Regions from separate parts of the Homo sapiens genome. Here region 1 is linked to region 2. Evidence: promoter capture Hi-C in human tissues and cell types (Jung and others, 2019). All regions are on one chromosome and are shown on one strand. The core of a region is centred on a gene start or on the middle of the fragment in contact, and the rest is flanking DNA. Distances in the headings are between cores, read along the strand shown.

Region 1 (4,089 bases), core at 1,305-3,804, 530 kb after region 2:
CCAACAGAGCCCAGGGACCCTCAGGGGTTCGAGACCCTCCCAGGGATGTCTGCAGTGTTGTGCTTTCCAGAATGACACGGCCATGTCTCCTGTTGACTCTTTGTCTCCTGAGTGCACAGTGGGTTTTTCCAAGGCTGGCTGTCTGTTTGGGGGTGGGGGAGGGTTCTGAGAGCCAGTGGATTCTGTGACTGTGACATCTTGTTTTTTAAAAAGTTTTGATTTACTTTCTAATGCCACAAATATCAAAATATTAGCCCCACTGGCAAAAGCTTTTTAAGGTTTTCAACAGTCTTTAAAGTGCTCTTTGGGTCAAAGAGTTTGAGAACTATTGTTAGATTTTTAAAGCTTTTTTTTTTTTTTTTTTGAAAAAGTTGAGAGGTAAACTGGAAACTTGTGCTTCTGAACCCATCCTTGAGGCGGATTTTATGCTGAGGATAGTTTAGTGTCAGTTTTGGAAATAGACTTGTGTTCTAGTATTCTTTCAGCAAATGTGCAGGTGATTCTGGGTTCCGAGCACTCTGCTGTGCCCTGCCGGTGAGTCAGGAATGTAGAGGGCATCCTCCTTGCCGTCACGGGGTGCCGAGCACTCTGCCATGTGCTGCCGGTGAGGCAGGAATGTAGAGGATATCCTCCTTGCTGTCATGGGTTCCGAGCACTCTGCCATGCGCTGCTGGTGAGGCAGGAATGTAGAGGACATCCTCCTTGCTGTCACGGGGTTCCGAGCACTCTGCTGTGTGCTGCCAGTGAGGCAGGAATGTAGAGGACATCCTCCTTGCCGTCACGGGTTCTGAGCACTCCGTCACACGCTGCCGGTGACGCAGGAATGTAGAGGGCATCCTTGCCGTCACAGGTTCCAAGCACTCTGTCACGCGCTGCCGGTGAGGCAGGAATGTAGAGGGCATCCTCCTTGCTGTCACGGGGTCATCTGCCATCATGGGGGTCACCGTATAAGTTCCTCCTCTATGCCGAAGTTTAATTTTCTAGACTGAGAAGGTTTATCTTTCCTGAGTCAGTCTGGATTTACTGATTTTGATGAGGTTCCTGTCCTGTGACCTGTGTTCTCTCTGAACAACTCAATTTTCTCATTGATTCCAATACACATAGTGTTACTTCCTTATTTACATCAGAATGATGCTAGGAGAGAAGGCGGCCTACAGTGCGGCCAAGTAGGACTGTGTAGCCACTGTGATGTCCCCAGAGGAGGTGACAGGCTCTGTCTGGTGGGAGCTGCCCTGTCCAGTATGAGGGCAGTAGCCTTGTGGGGCCTTTTACATTTAAATGTGTTAAGATGATATATAAAATCATCCTCCTGCTTCATCACTGCACTTTCGGGCGGGTGGCTGGGCGGCTCTCATGCTGGATGGTGTGGGTGGGACTGTTGCCAGACCTGCAGACAGTCCCCATCACGTGCTGCTCTGGGGCCGCAGCTGTGGGAGGAGAGGCCACAGGCACAGCTGAGGACGCAGCATAAAGATGTCCCACACTACAGAAAGTGACTTTTGGCCAGGTGCAGTGGCTCACGCCTGTAATGCCAGCACTTTGGGAGGCCGAGGTGGAGGAGAGCTTGAAGACAGGAGTTCGAGACCAGCCTGGGTGACAAAGTCAGAGCCCATCTCTACAAACGATGAAAGACTAGCCGGGTGTGGTGGCCACACACCTGTGGTCCCAGCTACCCAGGGGGCTGAGGTGGAAGGATCACTTCAACCTAGGAGCTGGAGGCTGCAGTGAGCTGTTGTCACATCACTGCACCCCACTCTGGGTGACAGAGTGAGACCCTGCCTCTAAAAAGAAAAAAAAGAATTTAATCTTGCTATCTGTGCCTCGTCATTTCTAAAGAGGGAATTTTGGACATATCAATGTAGCAGAAATATATAGGATAGATTGGTTTCATTGGATTGGGTTCCTGACTGAAGGCAGAAACAGGTTAGGGGGCTGTTGTATTTCAGGTGAAAAATGATGAATCAAAATTTGTGAGATGCTGTGGAAATGGTACTTGAATTTATAGACTAAAATCTTTATATTAAGTCAGAAGACATCTTGGAAACTGAAGAAATAAGCATTTATCTTAACATGTTAGAAAAAATTAAGTCCACAGAAGGGAGAAGTGAGACAATAATAAAAAGAATAAAATAAAATAGGAGATGCATAGACTTGTAGCTTCCAGTCCAGCACCTAAGGAGCTTGGAAGTCATCACGCTTGTCCTCTTGAGCAAAAAGCTGTACAAACCGAAAATAAGCAACTCCTCCTAGATCTGTCAAAGAATTGAGATTATAACCTCAAACCATTGTGCCGTAATTGGAGGTGGATATGTGAGCAGAGAGATGGAAAATCTAGGAATCAAAAGGCAATGCTAGAAATAAACACTGTAAGAGAAATGAAGTATGTTTTTGCTGGGCCCATCAATAGCCTGGACATGGCAGGTCAGAGAATCCAGTCCACATGAAGAAAAGACTTAGAGAAGGAATGAGTGAGGATAAAATAAAATCTTCTTGCCTTCACTCTGTCTTGACCATTTTGCACAACTCTCCACACCTCTGCTTTTGTGTGCAGTTTACCAAAGAACGAAACGGTGGAACAAAAATCGTCGTGGAAGGGAACACAGATGGCCCTATGTAGTGGAGACAAAAGGGAGGGAACACAGATGGCCCTGTGTAGTGGAGACAAACGGTGGCCGTGGACAGGTGGAATTCCATGCAGCCTGTCTCGTCTGGCCTCTTGCACAGTTTTGGCTTCTCCCAGGCTTGGCTTTCTTCTCTGTCCTCTTTCCAGACTTGGGTCACACTAACCAGGAGGAGCATCTTAAGCTCTTGCACTTGCAGAGTGTTTTAATCACCAGGAGGCAGCTCCGCTGTGAGTGCTTTGATTCAGTCACTCATTTACTCCTCACAGTCTCCCCTCAGGCAGGGACTCACTGCAGAGTGTTTTCATCTCATTTACTCCTCACAGCCTCCCCTCAGGCAGGGACTCACTGCAGAGTGTTCTCATCTCATTTACTCCTCACGGCCTCCCCTCAGGCAGGGACTCACTGCAGAGTGTTTTCATCTCATTTACTCCTCATGGCCTCCCCTCAGGCAGGGACTCACTGCAGAGTGTTTTCATCTCATTTACTCCTCACGGCCTCCCCTCAGGCAGGGACTCACTGCAGAGTGTTTTCATCTCATTTACTCCTCACAGTCTCCCCTCAGGCAGGGACTCACTGCAGAGTGTTTTCATCTCATTTACTCCTCACGGCCTCCCCTCAGGCAGGGACTCACTGCAGAGTGTTTTCATCTCATTTATTCCTCACAGTCTCCCCTCAGGCAGGGACTCACTGCAGAGTGTTTTCATCTCATTTATTCCTCACAGTCTCCCCTCAGGCAGGGACTCACTGCAGAGTGTTTTCATCTCATTTGCTCCTCACGGCCTCCCCTCAGGCAGGGACTCACTGCAGAGTGTTTTCATCTCATTTACTCCTCACGGCCTCCCCTCAGGCAGGGACTCACTGCAGAGTGTTTTCATCTCATTTACTCCTCACGGCCTCCCCTCAGGCAGGGACTCACTGCAGAGTGTTTTCATCTCATTTACTCCTCACGGCCTCCCCTCAGGCAGGGACTCACTGCAGAGTGTTTTCATCTCATTTATTCCTCACGGTCTCCCCTCAGGCAGGGACTCACTGCAGAGTGTTTTCATCTCATTTATTCCTCACGGTCTCCCCTCAGGCAGGGACTCACTGCAGAGTGTTTTCATCTCATTTGCTCCTCACGGCCTCCCCTCAGGCAGGGACTCACTGCAGAGTGTTTTCATCTCATTTGCTCCTCACGGCCTCCCCTCAGGCAGGGACTCACTGCAGAGTGTTTTCATCTCATTTGCTCCTCACGGTCTCCCCTCAGGCAGGGACTCACTGCAGAGTGTTTTCATCTCATTTACTCCTCACGGTCTCCCCTCAGGCAGGGACTCACTGCAGAGTGTTTTCATCTCATTTACTCCTCACGGTCTCCCCTCAGGCAGGGACTCACTGCAGTGTTTTCATCTCATTTATTCCTCACGGTCTCCCCTCAGGCAGGGACTCACTGCAGAGTGTTTTCATCTCATTTACTCCTCATGGGCCA
Region 2 (3,769 bases), core at 51-2,550:
ATCGATCAAGAGATGTGCCAGAACAACTGTCAGGAAGAAATAAGAAATGGTGGAGAGAAGTGGGGAAACAACTTTTGCTATGAAGGTAAAATACGAGACTCCCACAAAGCTTTCCAAGGCAAGCTCATCCCGTCCTTGAGACCTGAAGAAAAGGAGGCACTGACGAGGGGAAAACAGTCACTCTGCAGGGACTTCAGTAACTCCCTCTCGTGCAGGAGTCCCTGGGAGGCTCCAGTTGCCCGTCAATGTCTGTGTAATTGCGACCCAAATCGAATGTTCACTACATAAAAACGTGACTTCTTAAAAGTCCTAATACTAGGGCCGGGCGCAGTGGCTCACGCCTGTAATTCCAGCACTTTGGGAGGCCGGGGCGGGAGGATCACCCGGGATCAGGAGTTCGAGGCCAGCTTGGCCAACGTGGTGAAACCCCGTCTCTACTAAAAATACGAAAATTAGCTGGGTGTGGTGGTGCACGACTGTAATCCCTGTTACTCGGGAGGCTGAAGCAGGAGAATCGCTTGAACGCGGGAGGTGGAGGTTGCAGTGAGCCGAGACTGCGCTCCAGCCTGGGAAACAAGAGCGAAAAACTATGTCTCAAAAAAAAAAAAAAAAAAAAAAAGTCCTAATACTCAACACTTGTTGACTCATTCTTGCCACACCAACCAACGCTGTAAAAATTTAGTCTGGGCCTACTATGGTCTGAAAAGGAACAGGTATTCCCAAATCTAACAGTGAAAGAGAATGACTTAAAAATTATGAAACGTTAAATCACGAGAACAACGAACCCAGGATTCCTGAGAGGGGAGGGGGCTACGCCAAACCCAGAATCCGAAGGCTCATCACGGACCACGGAACGCTTCCTCCCTCACATGTCGGGGTCCCCCTCCACTCGCCCACATCGTCACCCGGGGCCCCTCCAGGGAACCCAACTCTGGGTGTACCCCCATCTCTGGGGGCCCTCAGTCTTTGGGTGGACCACGGTCTTAGGTGGACCCCGGTCTCTGGGGGATCCGATCTCTGGTGGACCCCGGATTCTGCTGGGGGAGGGGAAATGATCCCGAGTACGCGGCCAGACGGTCAGGCCCAGGAGCGGGGGATGGGCGAGCGGAAGGCGACCGCTCTCCCACGGCTACAGGCCCGGACCCTCCCCGGGGACCCAGCTGAGGAGAACGCGAAAGTTGCAGTGGCCCTCCCGGGGCCGCCTACCTTGGCGGACGGCACCACCGTAATTTTCTTGAAGTTGTAATGTGCCATGCCGGCAGCCGTATGCACGCGGGTACTTGGCACTCCCGGAACTTCCGCCGTCGGGCGCAGGTGGGACTTCCACTGTCGGGCGGTTGAGGTACGTCACTTCCGGGAGCTCAGCCAATCGTGTTCTGCGTGCTCTACGGCGCTTTCCGCGTCGCACAGCGCACCCGCCCGGCTTGGAGGTCAGCCACGGAGGGCGTGTGAGGGCCTCAGGAGCGAGGGTACAGAGGAGAGGACGCCCGGGTTTTAGGGGGAGCGCGGAGACTAAATTCCTGCTGAGTAAAGCGGGGGTTTCCGACAGACTGCCCTGCGGGTTTCTGGAGCGGGTTCAGGCCCCCAGCCACGCGCCCTGGGCCAGGGTTGGAGGGTCCGGGGTCTTGGGATTTGGGAGTTGCGGGGCTTAGGAGTCCAGAGGGTCTAGGGGATCCGGGAGTCTGGGGGTCCTGGGTCGCGGCGAGCCCCGCAAAGGAGGAGGAAGCCGCGCGTGCGGGGCGTGCCCAGCCTCTGGGTGTGGAGCAGATGACGCCCCTACCCCGGCCTCGCGCGTGGGACTTGATCCCGGGCCGTGGTGAGGAGGCCCTCGCGGCTTCCCTGCAGCCCTGCTTTCTCGTGCTTGTTAAATCCCAAAACGGGCGGAGAAGGGAAAGCCTGATCTAAGGCAAAAGAGGTGCAGCTGGTTCCGCGCAGTGCCTTAGGAGAGCCCAGGGAACAGTTGCGAGAGACAGTCCTGTGGGGTCCAACTGAGGAGAAGGTTGATGAGGATGGAGCCTTTACTGCTTTTATGTTTGTGAATAGAGTGGCCGCTCCCTTTGGGAACCCAGGGCCACATCCCTTAAATTAAACGTTAGGTAGGGCTGACTCAGTCAAGCAGTGTTCAGAGCTGCTGACTATATATTAACTCGTTTAATTTCTGCAACAGCCTCATGAAGTGCATGGGGAAACAAAGGCACACAAGGCTCGAAAGCACCCCGTGGTTGTGCAGCTGACAAGCTAACAGGCAGCAGAGGTGGGCTTTGAACCCAGGCAGCCTGGCTCCAGCAAACCTGCTTCTAACCATTAGCTATACTGCTTCTCACGCATCTGGGATGCCCCCCACTCTCCAATCCTTTTAAACAAGTCCTATTATTCTTACGCGAAAATACCTCTCATAAATTCCCAGCATTCCAATATTGAAAATCATTCTGGGTCATGCTTTTCTCATCTATTAACTATGCTTCCATTTTTGTGTCACAAGGCGGATAAGCATACCTCCTACATCTTTGTGGCACTTCTAAAGGAAGCTTCTAGGGTAATTAGGATTTGCTGGCTATGATCATTTGCTAAACCACAGGACAGTTCTGGCCACCATTTCCGAGATTAGCAAAGCTATGCTCATACTTATTGCCCTTTCTTTTAGGTTCTTGTATGTTTCCTCAACCTCTCCCACTTTCTCTCACTCTGATATAGCCAGTTCCTCTTTTTCTTGTAATCCGGTATTTAGATAAGTCCAGTCAATACTTTGCTTCAGATGGGCAAACATCCTTTCTTTAATTTTTTTTTTTTTTTTGAGACGGAATCTCACTCTGTCGCGCAGGCTGGAGCGCAGTGGCGCCATCTCAGCTCACTGCAACCTCCGCCTCCAGGGTTCAAGCCATTCTCCTGCCTCAGCCTCCCAAGTAGCTGGGATTACAGGCACCTGCCACCACTCCCGGCTAATATTTTGTATTTTTAGTAGAGACAGGGTTTTACCATATTAGCCAGGCTGGTCTCAAACCCTGACCTCAAGTGATCCACCCACCTTGGCCTCCCAAAGTGCAGAGATTACAGGCATGAGCCACCTGCTTTTAACTTGTTCAGCTACAAAGGCATGTCTGTGAATGCACAACCATAATGACTCATCATGGGCCCAGAGCTATAACAATGATAAGGTACCAAGCATCTTACACCATGTGCGTGTTGATGAGAATCAACATCCTTGCCTGTTCTTGTGATTTTGTGGCAGAGTATAGCTTCTTGGGGGCAAGTATGTATTCTACACCACTAGGAGCAAGCTTCTTTATCATACACTTCTGGGCTTCTCTGGGGAAGCCAAACTCTAAAGGCCTTTTCTGAGGAGTGTCGCAAATGCTGCCTGCAGTACGAGGCACATTGCCAGTTCCTGACTGCATTAGCAGGTTCCAGCTGCCAGGACGCCTCTGAGTGTGTACCTTGTGACAGAAAGGTACTTCTCAGCTGTAGTAAAGGATGCTCTCAAGGGTACTCTGCAAAGCTTCTGACTGCGAGGCACTTCTCAGTAAAAAGCTTTGTTTTTCAGACCTTTTTATTTTGTGGGTTTGGTCTTTTCTGTTTTACCTTCTCGTTGCTGTAATTCTGATGGATGAAAGGTACATTTTGCAGAACTGAACTTCCTGCCTGAAAGGAGCCTTTACATGGGGATTAGCCATCAGTAGGCATCCGGTCTTAGAGGGTCCTATGAGTGCTCCATTGGGCCCGTCGGCCACTTCCCTGGATCCCCACAGGAACTCATTCAGAACGAGTCACA

The links. Contacts are between HindIII fragments. The study calls those that stand out against the background at their distance.
Region 1: a contact is called between a fragment that was not itself captured here and the fragment with the promoter of GTPBP4 in region 2, in 1 of the 25 tissues and cell types used here (dorsolateral prefrontal cortex).

What each region holds. Positions count from the first base shown.
Region 1 is chr10:455,267-459,355 of GRCh38, reverse strand. All of the region lies in intron 3 of DIP2C (disco interacting protein 2 homolog C), which reads left to right. Among named protein-coding and RNA genes, the nearest start is that of DIP2C-AS2, 170 kb to the left of the region's middle. The HindIII fragment of the contact is 4,493 bases long and covers 308-4,089 here.
Region 2 is chr10:985,965-989,733 of GRCh38, reverse strand. GTPBP4 (GTP binding protein 4) reads right to left here and starts at 1,300. Exons shown (of 17, transcript NM_012341.3): 1 at 1,207-1,300. The coding sequence starts at 1,254. It also overlaps a transcript of LARP4B not described here. The HindIII fragment of the contact is 8,297 bases long and covers 1-2,903 here.